Regions from separate parts of the Homo sapiens genome. Here regions 1 and 2 are each linked to region 3. The links are contacts of gene promoters, found by promoter capture Hi-C in blood cells and fetal thymus (Javierre and others, 2016). All regions are on one chromosome and are shown on one strand. Each heading gives the region's core, a stretch centred on a gene start or on the middle of the fragment in contact. The rest is flanking DNA. Distances are from core to core; before and after follow the strand shown. Region 1 overlaps SYTL3 (synaptotagmin like 3). Region 2 overlaps EZR (ezrin). Region 3 holds the start of RSPH3 (radial spoke head 3).

Region 1 (3,839 bases), core at 167-2,666, 250 kb after region 3:
TTCAATCTCTGTCTATAAACTCTGGATTGATGTGATTATTCCCCATATTCCAGCTACACTCCTTATCAGTTAGTCCAGGCAGCTGGCCAGCTGCATCTGCTGCCCTCTGAGAAATGAAGCGGTTACTAGAACGCCACGCCACTTAGCAGGGTCGGGCTCGGGCCCCCAGGCAGCTCTCTCATCTCCAGCTGTGTGTGGGCGACGCTCAGCCACTTCTCCTGGGTCCTTACCCATTGCTCGCCCCTTTCTGTCAATAGGACTACTCCCTGCTACATACAGAATCTACCTTTGCTTTGTTTTGTTTTGTTTGTTGAGACGGAGTCTCGCTCTGTCGCCCAGGCTGGAGTGCAGTGGTGTGATCTCAGCTCACTGCAAGCTCCGCCTTCCAGGTTCACGCCATTCTCCTGCCTCAGCCTCCCGAGTAGCTGGGACTACAGGTGCCCGCCACTGTGCCCAGCTAATTTTTTGTATTTTTAGTAGAGACGGGGTTTCACCGTGTTAGCCAAGATGGTCTCGATCTCCTGACCTCATGATCCGCCTGCCTCGGCCTCCCAAAGTGCTGGGATTACAGGCGTGAGCCACCACACCCAGCCTAGAATCTACCTTTTCAAACCAGACCTATTTTCCATAGCCCTGTTAGGTCCACAAGGCTTGCTCCAGGCTCAGCTGGGAATGAGGTGTAAGGATCATTTGAGAGCAGGGCCAGGCAATGACCAATGTCACCCAGTGAGATCACTTCATCCTCTCCAGGCCCCCAGGACAGTGGTGTCAAATGGGGTACAAGTCTCCCTGGGTCCAGAAAGGCTTGCCAAGAAGTACTCTGCTCAGAAAAATTTGAGGATCAATTTCTAGATCCTCGCATTTGATGTGCACTTCTCTCAAAACTGGCTGGAGACAGTTCTCACAGCCTCATCCACCTGAATCGTACTCTGATGGCTCACCTCAGGTCGCACAAAGCCTGGGTGCTGCACAAAGGTGTGATTGTGATTGGAAATACTGGCTTCTAGCGAGACTTTTAATGCTGGATCGGCCTCCCCGGCTTCCCATCCTTCGCATCTTATGCATATTTCTATTAAGGATGAGGCTGGCCGGTGTTGGGTTATTTTGCATTTAGGATCAATTAGAGATGCCGATTATTTTAATTGTAACTGGAAAGTTTCCCAGGACTATAAAATATTCACAATATACTAGATAAGACCCATGGATAAAAATTTTAAGTGATATCTTTGAGATTCTGTGTACATTTTAAGGTAGGTAACCTTTTAACTCCAATTATATAACTACATTTTTTTTTTTTTTTTTGAGACGGAGTCTCGCTCTGTCACCCAGGCTGGAGTGTAGTGGCGCTATCTCGGCTCACTGCAAGCTCTGCCTCCCGGGTTCACGCCATTCTCCTGCCTCAGTCTCCCAAGTAGCTGGGACTACAGGCGCCCGCCACCACGCCCGGCTAATTTTTTGTATTTTTAGTAGAGACGGGGTTTCACCATGTTAGCCAGGATGGTCTCGATCTCCTGACCTCATGATCCACCCGCCTCAGCCTCCCAAGGTGCTGGGATTACAGGCGTGAGCCACCGCGCCCGGCCCAGAATCTGCATTTTAAAAAAATCCCCAGTTCTAAGTACAGGGGCATCTTAGAAAATAAGAAATTTAGGCCTGGCGTGGTGGCTCAAGCCTGTAATCTCAGCATTTGGGAGGCCGGGGTGGGCAGATTACCTGGGGTCAGGAGTTCAAGACCAGCCTGGTCAACATGGTGAAACCCCATCTGTACTAAAAACACAAAAAATTTGCTGGCCATCGTGGTGGGTACCTTTAATCCCAGCTACTCAGGAGGCTGAGGCAGGAGAATCGCTTGAACCTGGGAGGTGGAGGTTGCAGTGAGCCAAGATCATGTCACTGCACTCCAGCCTGGGCGACCAAGAGTGAAACTCCATCTCAAAAAAAAAAAAAAAAAAAAGAAAAGAAGAAATGTTTTAAAAATGTAAATCCCCATGGGATTTTACGCACACAAATTTTGAGAACTGCCAGTCCTTTGTGGCTTTGAGCTGTATTTCTAAGGACTCTCTAGGTCTCAGTTTCCCCGTGGGTAAATGAGGATTCTAATAATTACCCCAGGCTGTATATAAAGCACTTGGCCACAGTAGGGACCCAGGAAACAAGGGCTATTATTATTTAATGAACTCAGGGCTCTGTGCCAGCTGCCCAGATGGCCCCTGGCTGGCAGCTCACAGACACCCCCTACTTGCCAAGAAAGGCAAACAAAGCCCTCTCCTGTCATAGGCATGAGACGAGGGGACCTCTGGCTGCCCAGCCCCGGCAGGGTAGCCTCTGCAGCTCTGGGCTACCCCCCTCACCCTGCACCAAGATTGGGGCCACCACAGCCAGCTCTCTGCAGATACCAGACCTCAGCTGCAGCCTTCCACCCGACATCAGAGCGCATGGCCCCATCTCTGCCCTCAACCATCAATCACATTTCCTAGTATCATAGAAAGTGAAAACCCAAACAATTCCTTTGTAAGATTTTTCATAAAAGGATTCATTTAAAAAAAATAAAATTAGAAGAAACCTGAGTTTGTCAGAAATACAATAAAGGGGCACTTTTACAAAGACAGTAACTCAGGAGTTTAATTTTCAGGGCACTCTGTCTGAGAGCACCTCTTTGACAGAAACATTCACTAAGACAAACTAATGTTTAAAATTATCCTGTGCCCCGGTGTTAGCCCGAGACAAAGAGGCAGCCAGGTTCTTTTTCACCATCTTCTCAGAAATCATTAATCAAAAGCCATTCCTGAGTCTGGCAGACTCTGCACTTTTCCTGTACAAAGGCTGACATTTATTTTCTACCAACTTAACACTGATTGACAGAGCTGCGAAGAAACATATAGGTGTCTGTATTATATCTAACTGAGTCAAGAGTTTGAAAGCACCATCCACTGGACTCTGCCCCAGGCGCTCCACCCGGGCTCGGGAGGACTCTGCACAGGAATATCTGTCCAGCAAGTACCTTCAAGGTCTCCTGAAAGGTCGGGTCCACGGTGTTCCTTTGGACTCCAGTCTTGCGCTTTCCCTGGGAGGATCTGTCGGGCAACAGGTAGGTCTTCACATACCTAGGGGCCAAACACAGCGGGGACAGAGTGAGAACTCAGGGAAAGGGGTGGATAAAGAGTTTGGGGGCAGCAGAGAACCCACATGCCAGCGTTTTCTTTACCAGGCTTCCTGCTGGAATTTTTGGGTTGATAGAAAGGACTTAATAGCCTAATAGTGAGCAACGTTAGTGCTGGGTGGGCAGCTTCTGATCCATGCAGTCTATGGTCAAATGCTAGCCACATAACCCTCTGGAATATTCCTGGGGGTGTGAAGCTCGTCCTGCCTTCCTCAGGCCCTACTCCATTTGGCGAAGACCATGGAACTAGAGATTCTCTCGCCTGCCTGGATGTCAAGGCCATGAGCCGGATTCCCGTCCCTTCTGCCACCCACCACCTGCAAAAGAAAAAAAAGTGGAAGTAGAAAGCATATGCCTCGCACTGTGCTGTTTCCTTGCAGGGGCCTCAAAGACTCTGCTCCTCCCAACCGCTGAGAAGTGGGATTCTGCTGAGTCTAGAGGTCGCACGCAGCATGACAGATGTCTCCATCTGCACTCACCCAGCCCCTGAAATCCAGGCGGAGAGGAAGACATGTCCTGTCCTGTTCTAGGCTGACCCCTCCATACAGGCCCCTACGCTGCCCTTCATGGCTCCTCTGGCAGCCCCAGTGATGGCAATGACCCCCCAACCAGCAGCAGCCCAAGCCCCCTCTCCACAGGCTAGAAACAGGCTCTACTTTCCAAAGTAAAAAATCACAGT
Region 2 (3,845 bases), core at 1,151-3,650, 230 kb after region 3:
GCCTTTCAGAGCTGTCCTGGAACTTACCCAAGATAGGGACAGTCAGACTTGCACCCAAGCATTGCTGGTGCCCAAGGTTTCATCGGGGCTTCACCCACTTCTGTTGTCAGAGGTGTGCATCCTCACACAGGTGACACTGGCAGGCAGTCATTTTGGGAGGACATGGTAAGAAGGCGACACTTTATGTCCTGAAATCTGATAGTATTGATTGTAATAGCTGCAAAGACCAGTGCATTATGTAAATTTGGTTTTATTTATTCTGCTGACATTTAAACTTTTGTTAACTCAGAATATTTGAGACATACGCACATAACTGTAGCATTGTAGAATGGGTAAGGATTTTGTTATCTAATCAGAAATCTAGTTCTCTAAAAAATTGCCACCTGAAGAAATTCTGTTACCACCTTAGAGCCTGTTCTGAATTTTACGAAAATTATAGATTGGAAAGGACTTTGTGTTCTCATGTAATTTTGGTTCCTTAGTTACAGTGTTAAGCTTGGAGAGGCAAACATGGGCTGTGGTCCATACCTTGGTTGTCTTGTTAACCCTTTTGGGACTGGGTACTGCTTAGCAATGGTAAATCCACTTAGAACAGTATGTGGTGTTATTGTCCTGTTACTTCTCCCCACATACAGGTTTGTCTAGCATAATTTAAAATCAGCAGGTCTTGACAATTTTGTGAAAGTATTTTCTTCTTTGTTAAAAACGTCTTGGCCAGGCTCAGTGGCTCACGCCTGTAATCCCAGGACCTTGGGAGGCTGAGATGGCCGAATCACGAGGTCAGGAGTTCGAGACCAGCCTGGCCAACACAGTGAAAACCCCATCTCTACTAAAAATACAAAAATTATCTGGGCGTGGTGGTGGGCGCCTGTAATCTCAGCTGCTCGGGAGGCTGAGGCAGGAGAATCGCTTGAACCCAGGAAGCAGAGGTTGCAGTGAGCTGAGATCGCCACTGCACTCAAGCCTGGGTGACAGAGCTAGACTCCGTCTCAAAAAAAAAAAAAAAAAAGGGCTCCTGCTGTTTGCAAACTCTTGGCTGCTACTCTGTGGGTAGTTGCACGGTTATTTAAAATTAAACGCGTATTGAATGCAGACTCTAAGGCTCCATGGCAGCAGTTCATATTATGCAACAGCATGAATGGAGGGTCATAGCGTCTTCATGTCACTTGGGTAGTAAGATTGGCACAGTTTAGAAGAGCAAGAAAATGCTGAAATCTCTTCATCAGTAGGCTACTACGTACTCTGTGACGCTACTGCCTTTTCAGAACACTTATTAAAAATTTGACTAGAGCAGCAGCTCTGGACTAGACTGTTTCAGAATGTTTGTGCGTGTGTGTGTGTGTGTGTGTGTGTGTGTGTGTGTGTGTGTGTTTGATGATAAGTCCATCTCTTGAAAAGCTGAAGAATATTTTCATAATAAGCCCCAAGCAGAAGCCATTGTAACGCATCTCGTGCATGTGCCTTTATTATAGAGTAGCCTCATGTGAAGCCATCTCGTAAGCAAAAGAAACATTCGCTGGTGGCACGCTGTCCCAGGCACTCTTCCAGGGCTGTGTGCACCATCAACAAGGCAAAGCTCCTACCCTGGTGAGCCTACATTTACGTGAAGGAAAGGGTTAAAAAGGCAACTGAGATGCTTCCTGGTAGTAAATTTAACAGTACAGCTGTGATTAAAAACTAAGCCGGATCAGAAGATGGGGGTGAGATTCCTTTAGGCAGGTTGGGCAGGAGCCACACTGAGGAGGCAGCATTTGCCTTGAGTGGGCACTGCTGGTTTGAGGAGGTGGAGTTCTGTCACCCCCACAGCACCCCAGGGCTGCTCGAGGCACTGCCCCACCTCAGTCTGTAAACTTTGGGCAGAAGAAGTTCAAGTTTTCGACATCGAACTTTCTTGTAAAAAAGAAGAGGCCCAAAGTTTGAGGCGGTGGGATTCCTTATCTTGTGTTGACTTTCACGGGTCATCTTCACCCCAGGCGGTTTCTGCTGTGAACTCACAAATGAGTCTTTGTCCAGTTCTCACCCAACAACTGGCGTCTCCTTTTTAAAAGCCAGCTTCTCTTCCCTGCCAAGGTGCATACAGCAGTTTGGGGCCACACTTTGGCTCTTTAGATGGGACCTTGTATACAGCTGACACGGCCTGCCCAGGTGACACTATGAGGGGCTGAGGCGGCTGCCTTTTCCCTTTCAAAAGGGCGTTTTGTTCCTGTGGCCTTGTGGAAAAGGCAGAAGGCTCTGAGGCATCTGAAATTTGGAGAAAGTAAGCAGCGTTTCCGCTCTGACTCCTCGGACGCTTCCCCCACGTGACCTTCCCAGGAGCCCCGCTGCCTTTTTGCCTCCCGCGGCTGCCTCCTGCCATCTCTGCGGCCAGATGAGCCTTGGGATTGGCCTCTTGTGGGAGAGTTTCCTGGCATCCTGGGGACTTGAAAAGGGGCTCTTTTACCTTCTCTCCTTCTGTATTTGTAGGGTCTTGGGTTTATTTTTCTTGAACTTTCCTTGTGCCTGGTTTGCATTTTTACCTTGCTGGTCCTCGGCCAGTTTAAAAACCCTGCTCCAGGTCTTGTCGTGTTGTGGTTCTGCATCAGGAAGCTGCATCCTGCATCAGGTTAGGGACTTGGATTTAGAAACATTTCAGTATGAGTCTTTGTTTTAACTTGAAGTGAGAAACCGGCTTCCTTCAAAGGCACTGGGAGAGATTTCCTGCCAGGCACCATCCTCCCTCACCCACTGGCAGTGGACTCCCCAAATTCTGGTTCCCGTTGCTGGCAGGACCTGTCTTCTGCAGGGAAAGGGAGAGAGGGAGACATTGTTATGTTAACCATTGAGGTTTTTCATTGATCCCCCCACCCATGCACCCCCACAACCCCATAAAGGGGAGTTGGTGCTAATCAGCGTTTTCTGAGTCAGGGCCTATTTGGTAGAGTCCTCCAAAGCTGTAATGCAGGATTGTTTCCTCTTGTGTAATAAGGGATAGGTGGGTCATAAAAATGCCGATTGCTCCCAGCTCCACAGACTCCTCCCTGGGAAACCCAATGACTTAACAGCAAGGGTGTGAAACCCCAAAGACAGCCCCACCCAGGAAGTTCATGGGCTCTCAGGGCTTGGCATCACCTCTCACCCTAGGATTTCTGGAACAGATGAAAAGACTGAAGCTAAATAGATTCTTCTCGGATGTGTTGATGAGCCCGCTCAGCCGGTTCCTCGTTAGGTCTCAGAAGTTGCTGTGGGATATATCGCACTGTTTTTTTGTTTTAGCCACCCTGTCCCTCTGTTCCAAATGGTCAGAAGCTGGATGCTGGGGGCCCTGAGGTTAAGAGGAAGCCAACAGAGTCACTGAAAAATAACTTTTCATGGGAGTTTCTAAACCATATTCTTCTGTCTTGTAAGCTAATCACAGCAGTAGCAAGGAGTTGGGACCAAGATTGTCAGCTGTGTCCCAAATGTTTCCAGTCATGGTCACGAGTTTCCCGAAGGCTGTGATTCTGCCTTGTTTTCCAGGAGGCTCCTCTGGTTGTGGTCTTGCAAGGCACTAGCAATTGGAGTGACCGCTGTGTGTGTCAGCCAGCTCTTCCTGCGCCGAGCACCTCCTGAACGTCACCGATAAGGCGGGGACGCCAGCATCTAATGGGACTGCTGGGAGGATTGAGTCCCATATCTGAAGTCCCTTGAGATACCGGCATCCCTGCCTTATGGTTGAAGGCACTGAGCCTGGTGAAGGGATGTGCTCAAGGCTGTGGAGCTCGCACGTGGCTGTCTGTGCTGCACGAGCTGGCAGTGCCTGGCAGGTACTGCACACCTCAAATACCCTGGGAAGATAAGAGATGAGTGAATGTGTGGCCCCTGCCCTT
Region 3 (3,862 bases), core at 289-2,788:
GCCACAGAGCGAGACTCCATCTAAAAAAAAAAAAAAAGAAAGAAACTTGTACAAGAACCTATAGTGGCTATCAATTTCTTTATAAAGCCCACTGTGGCTGGTATAGCACTATTGTTTACCCACTTAATACCCACTCAATTCTGCCCCAACATCCTCCTAACAGAATTTGTTCTCCTCCTCCCTGGCCAAGTGTTTCTTGGAGGCCTAGAAAGACCGGTTACCTGGTCTAATCCAAATATGGTGGTCTTATATAGATCCTAAGCTTAAATCAATATGATGTAATTCTGGTCAGTTGGGAGTTTACGAGGGGGTTTTGCTCTTCCAATAAAGACAAAAGAGCAGATACTTCTATTACTACTTTGTTGAAGCCAACAACCCAGGTGACAGAGTGGAAAGGTAGGGGAAAAAACGTGTTGTTGATAATGTGCTGAGCCCCCAAGTTACCCTCCAGGTTAACCAACCTGGGGAGTGTAAAATAATGAATTCCTTATTATTTCAGCCACTTGGAATTGGTTTTTTGTTACTTGAGGGAAAAAATATTCTAATTAATATGCTAGTGTTTACTGTTTCCACGATGTGGTGTCAGCCTGTCTATATATATTTCTACAACTCATCTACACAAACCTTGCTTACAGTTTTCCAAATGCACCTTGGGCTTCTTGAGCCTTTGATCAAGCCATTCCGAATGCACTTCCCCCAAGAGGCTGGCCAGTTAAAATACTATCATTTATCAAACACAACTTAAATGTCACTTTCTCCTCTAGCCCTTTCAGAAATTACCTCAAAATTAAATGATCAGACCTAAAATATGTTGGGAGTGTTTTCACCTCTAGAATTTACCATACACCTTTATGCTAGTGTTACTTATAGAATGCCTACATCTGCTTTAGGTCATACACTTCAAAGCACAGAACGGTCCAGATCTTAATATAAAGGCTTGCCATTTACCAGGCACAGCTCTAAGTATTAACGGTTTTAATCCTCAAGACAAAACCTAAAGAGATAAATTCTTCTATTGCCACTTTGTGGATTAGGAAAATGAAGCACAAAAACATTTAACTTGCCTGAGGTTTCGGAGCTAGTACATTCTAGAACCTGGATTCAAATCAAGACAGCAATTAGCTGAATGAAGGTGTAACTGCAAATGCAAATAACTGATCACAAGGGATACACATTCACTCATACAAGATAGAAGATTTTTAACGTTGCTGGTACTAAAACCAAAGCGTCTGCGTTTTTAAGCGCAGCCCCACCCCGCAATACTAGAGACATTCTTTAGAGCTGGAAGCCTGATAGATTAAGGGGAACTATGCCTTTGTATTTTTTAAGACTCAATAAATTGCTCACTTCTTTCCCAAAATGAGGTGTCTGTGGGGGAGGCCCCTGTCGCTCCGTGTGCCAAGGGTCCTCCGATTGCTAGCACACAGCGGTGAGCAGAGAAGGTAGGTGAGGAACTGCACTGACTCAGCTGCAGAGGGCGGCGGCAGCCCGCCCCTGGGGCGGGAGAAGGGCAGGAGCCGGGAGACACCAGGAAGCTCTTCCCCGCCCGGGCACGTAACAGAGCTGGGAGCCTGGCTGCCAGGGGCGTGTTATCGCGGGGGCAGCCTGGGAGCGCTGCTGCGCCGCGGCAGGAGAAACAGCCGAGGACACCCTGGAAGAGCAGGAGCACGTGGGCCTGCGAGAATGGCGCCAACACCAGCCCTGCAAAGCCACATTCCAAAGCCGGGCCAAGGACAGCCACCGTTGCCCCGCAGGCCTCAAGGATGACGGTCAAGCCAGCCAAGGCCGCCTCCCTAGCCAGGAACCTCGCAAAGCGCAGGCGCACCTACCTGGGTGGCGCGGCTGGGCGGAGTCAAGAGCCGGAAGTCCCTTGTGCCGCAGTCCTTCCCGGGAAACCTGGGGACCGGAACTGCCCGGAGTTCCCGCCCCCAGACAGAACCCTGGGTTGCTGGGCAACCGATGCGGCCCCCGCAGCTGGTCTCTGTGGTGCTGGGAGCGAGCCCAGTATAGCTCCCACCTCCTGCGCTGGTAACCTCCCGTCCCGCCCGCCTCCCTTGTTGTCGCCTCTCCTCGCGTCGCGGAATCCTTGCCCTTGGCACTACTTACATCTCTCCGGGTCCCACAACACCTTAGCGCCCACCTGCTTCAAAGCCAAGCTCCACCGAAAGCGAGGCAGTCAGCCCCCGGACATGGCCTCAGCGCTGACTGATCGCACCTCTCGGGCCCCGAGCACCTACACCTACACCAGCCGGCCCCGAGCACTGCCCTGCCAGCGCAGCCGTTACCGGGACAGCCTGACGCAGCCGTGAGTGACCAAGCCAGCCCCTGTGTGGTCCATACTTGCACCCCATCCCCAGGCCGGGGTCTGGCCCCTTCGCCCTGGCAAAAAAGCTGCTTATGCTGTCTTCCCTTGGCTGCACTCTGCCGAAATAAAAGTTCTGCCCTAAGGAATCTCCCGTGGTGTGGAGGAGTGAAGCAGGAAGGGGCATGGGTTGGGCATCAGTTAACTTTTAGTGATATGAGTTGCTGCCGTGGTCCTTAACATGTACACGAATTGGCTCATTTCACAAAGTTTGAATTGTACCAGTGTGTATTGAGGGCCAACTACGTGCTGAGCACCTTACGGGGGGCATTCAAATACGTTTTCTTAGTTAATCCACAGTGCTGTGAAGTTGATTTTATAACTCCATTATGCAGATGAGGAGACCGCGGTGCAAAGATATCCAACAGTAGCATATCCAAAATGGGAGCCGAGTAAATCTCTTCGGCAGGCTTTGAGCAGGAGTAAGATTATTCTTCCATGCAGGACCACAGATTGGTTTTTTGTGGTGGTGGTGGTGGTGGTGGTGGTGGTTGCTGTTGTTGTTTTGAGACGGAGTTTCGCTCTTGTCGCCCAGGCTGGACTGCAATGACGCGATCTCCGCTCACTGCAACCTCCGCCCCCCTCCCCCACTCCTCCCCGATCAAACGATTCTCCTGCCTCAGCCTCCCAAGTAGCTGGGACTAGAGGCGCCCTCCACCACCCCCGGCTAATCTTTGTATTTTTAGTAGAGACAGGGTTTTGCCACGTTGGCCAGGCTGGTCTCAAACTCTTGGCCTCAAGTGATCCGCCCGCCTCGGCCTCCCAAAGTGCTGGGATTACAAGCGTGAGCCACCGCGCCCGGACGGCAGTTTGTGTTTTTACATCCATGAACAGTTGCAAATATTCAAACATACATAGGAAAGAAAAAAAACAAAACATAAGCCTTTTTTTTTTTCTTTTTTTTTTTTTGAGACGGAGTCTCGCTCTGTCGCCCAGGCTGGAGTGCAGTGGCACAATCTCGGCTCACTGCAACCTCCACCTCCCGGGTTCACGCCATTCTCCTGCCTCAGCCTCCCAAGTAGCTGGGACTACAGGCGCCCGCCACCACGCCCGGCTCTTTTTTTTTTTTTTTTTTTTTTTGTATTTTTTTAGTAGAGACGGGGTTTCACCATGTTAGCCAGGATACTCTCGATCTCCTGACCTCATGATCCGCCCGCCTCGGCCTCCCAAAATGCTGGGATTACAGGCCTGAGCCACCACACCCAGCAAAAAAAACATAAACTCTTAAAGTTCTCTTAAAGTTAAACGGTTCTCTAAAGTTCTTTCCATAAGCCTCAAATGTTGAATTCAGCAGAACTTTATAGGAATGCAAGCTCCATGGATGCAGGAACTTTTGCATCTTTTGTTCACCTAGTACAATGCCTGGTACATAGTAAGCACTTAATACGAATTGTCAAACTGATGATTGAACATCAACAATGTAATTATTGATGCTTATTTCAAACGCTCTTTCTAAATTCATAATTATCTTGTTCTAACAAATTCTTTTTCTATAAGAGA

The links. The method cuts DNA at HindIII sites, captures the fragments that hold promoters and counts their contacts. A CHiCAGO score of 5 or more calls a contact.
Region 1: a contact is called between a fragment that was not itself captured here and the fragment with the promoter of RSPH3 in region 3, in 2 of 17 cell types (total CD8 T cells and naive CD8 T cells). The highest score is 6.0, in total CD8 T cells.
Region 2: a fragment that was not itself captured here is called in contact with the fragment with the promoter of RSPH3 in region 3 in 1 of 17 cell types (total B cells); the score reaches 6.2 in total B cells.

What each region holds. Positions count from the first base shown.
Region 1 is chr6:158,751,193-158,755,031 of GRCh38, reverse strand. It overlaps SYTL3 (synaptotagmin like 3), which reads right to left. Exons shown (of 18, transcript NM_001242394.2): 13 at 3,002-3,104. Among named protein-coding and RNA genes, the nearest start is that of MIR3918, 12 kb to the left of the region's middle. The HindIII fragment of the contact is 4,980 bases long and covers 1-3,839 here.
Region 2 is chr6:158,772,199-158,776,043 of GRCh38, reverse strand. All of the region lies in intron 8 of EZR (ezrin), which reads left to right. Among named protein-coding and RNA genes, the nearest start is that of MIR3918, 9.4 kb to the right of the region's middle. RefSeq lists an enhancer at 2,246-3,445. The HindIII fragment of the contact is 3,806 bases long and covers 498-3,845 here.
Region 3 is chr6:158,997,878-159,001,739 of GRCh38, reverse strand. RSPH3 (radial spoke head 3) reads left to right here and starts at 1,538. Exons shown (of 8, transcript NM_031924.8): 1 at 1,538-2,305. The coding sequence starts at 2,190. TAGAP-AS1 (TAGAP antisense RNA 1) reads right to left here and starts at 1,867. Exons shown (of 5, transcript NR_183546.1): 1 at 1,348-1,867. RefSeq lists enhancers at 1,230-1,279, 852-1,823, 1,690-1,849, 2,020-2,089, 2,120-2,169 and 2 more. The HindIII fragment of the contact is 7,152 bases long and covers 265-3,862 here.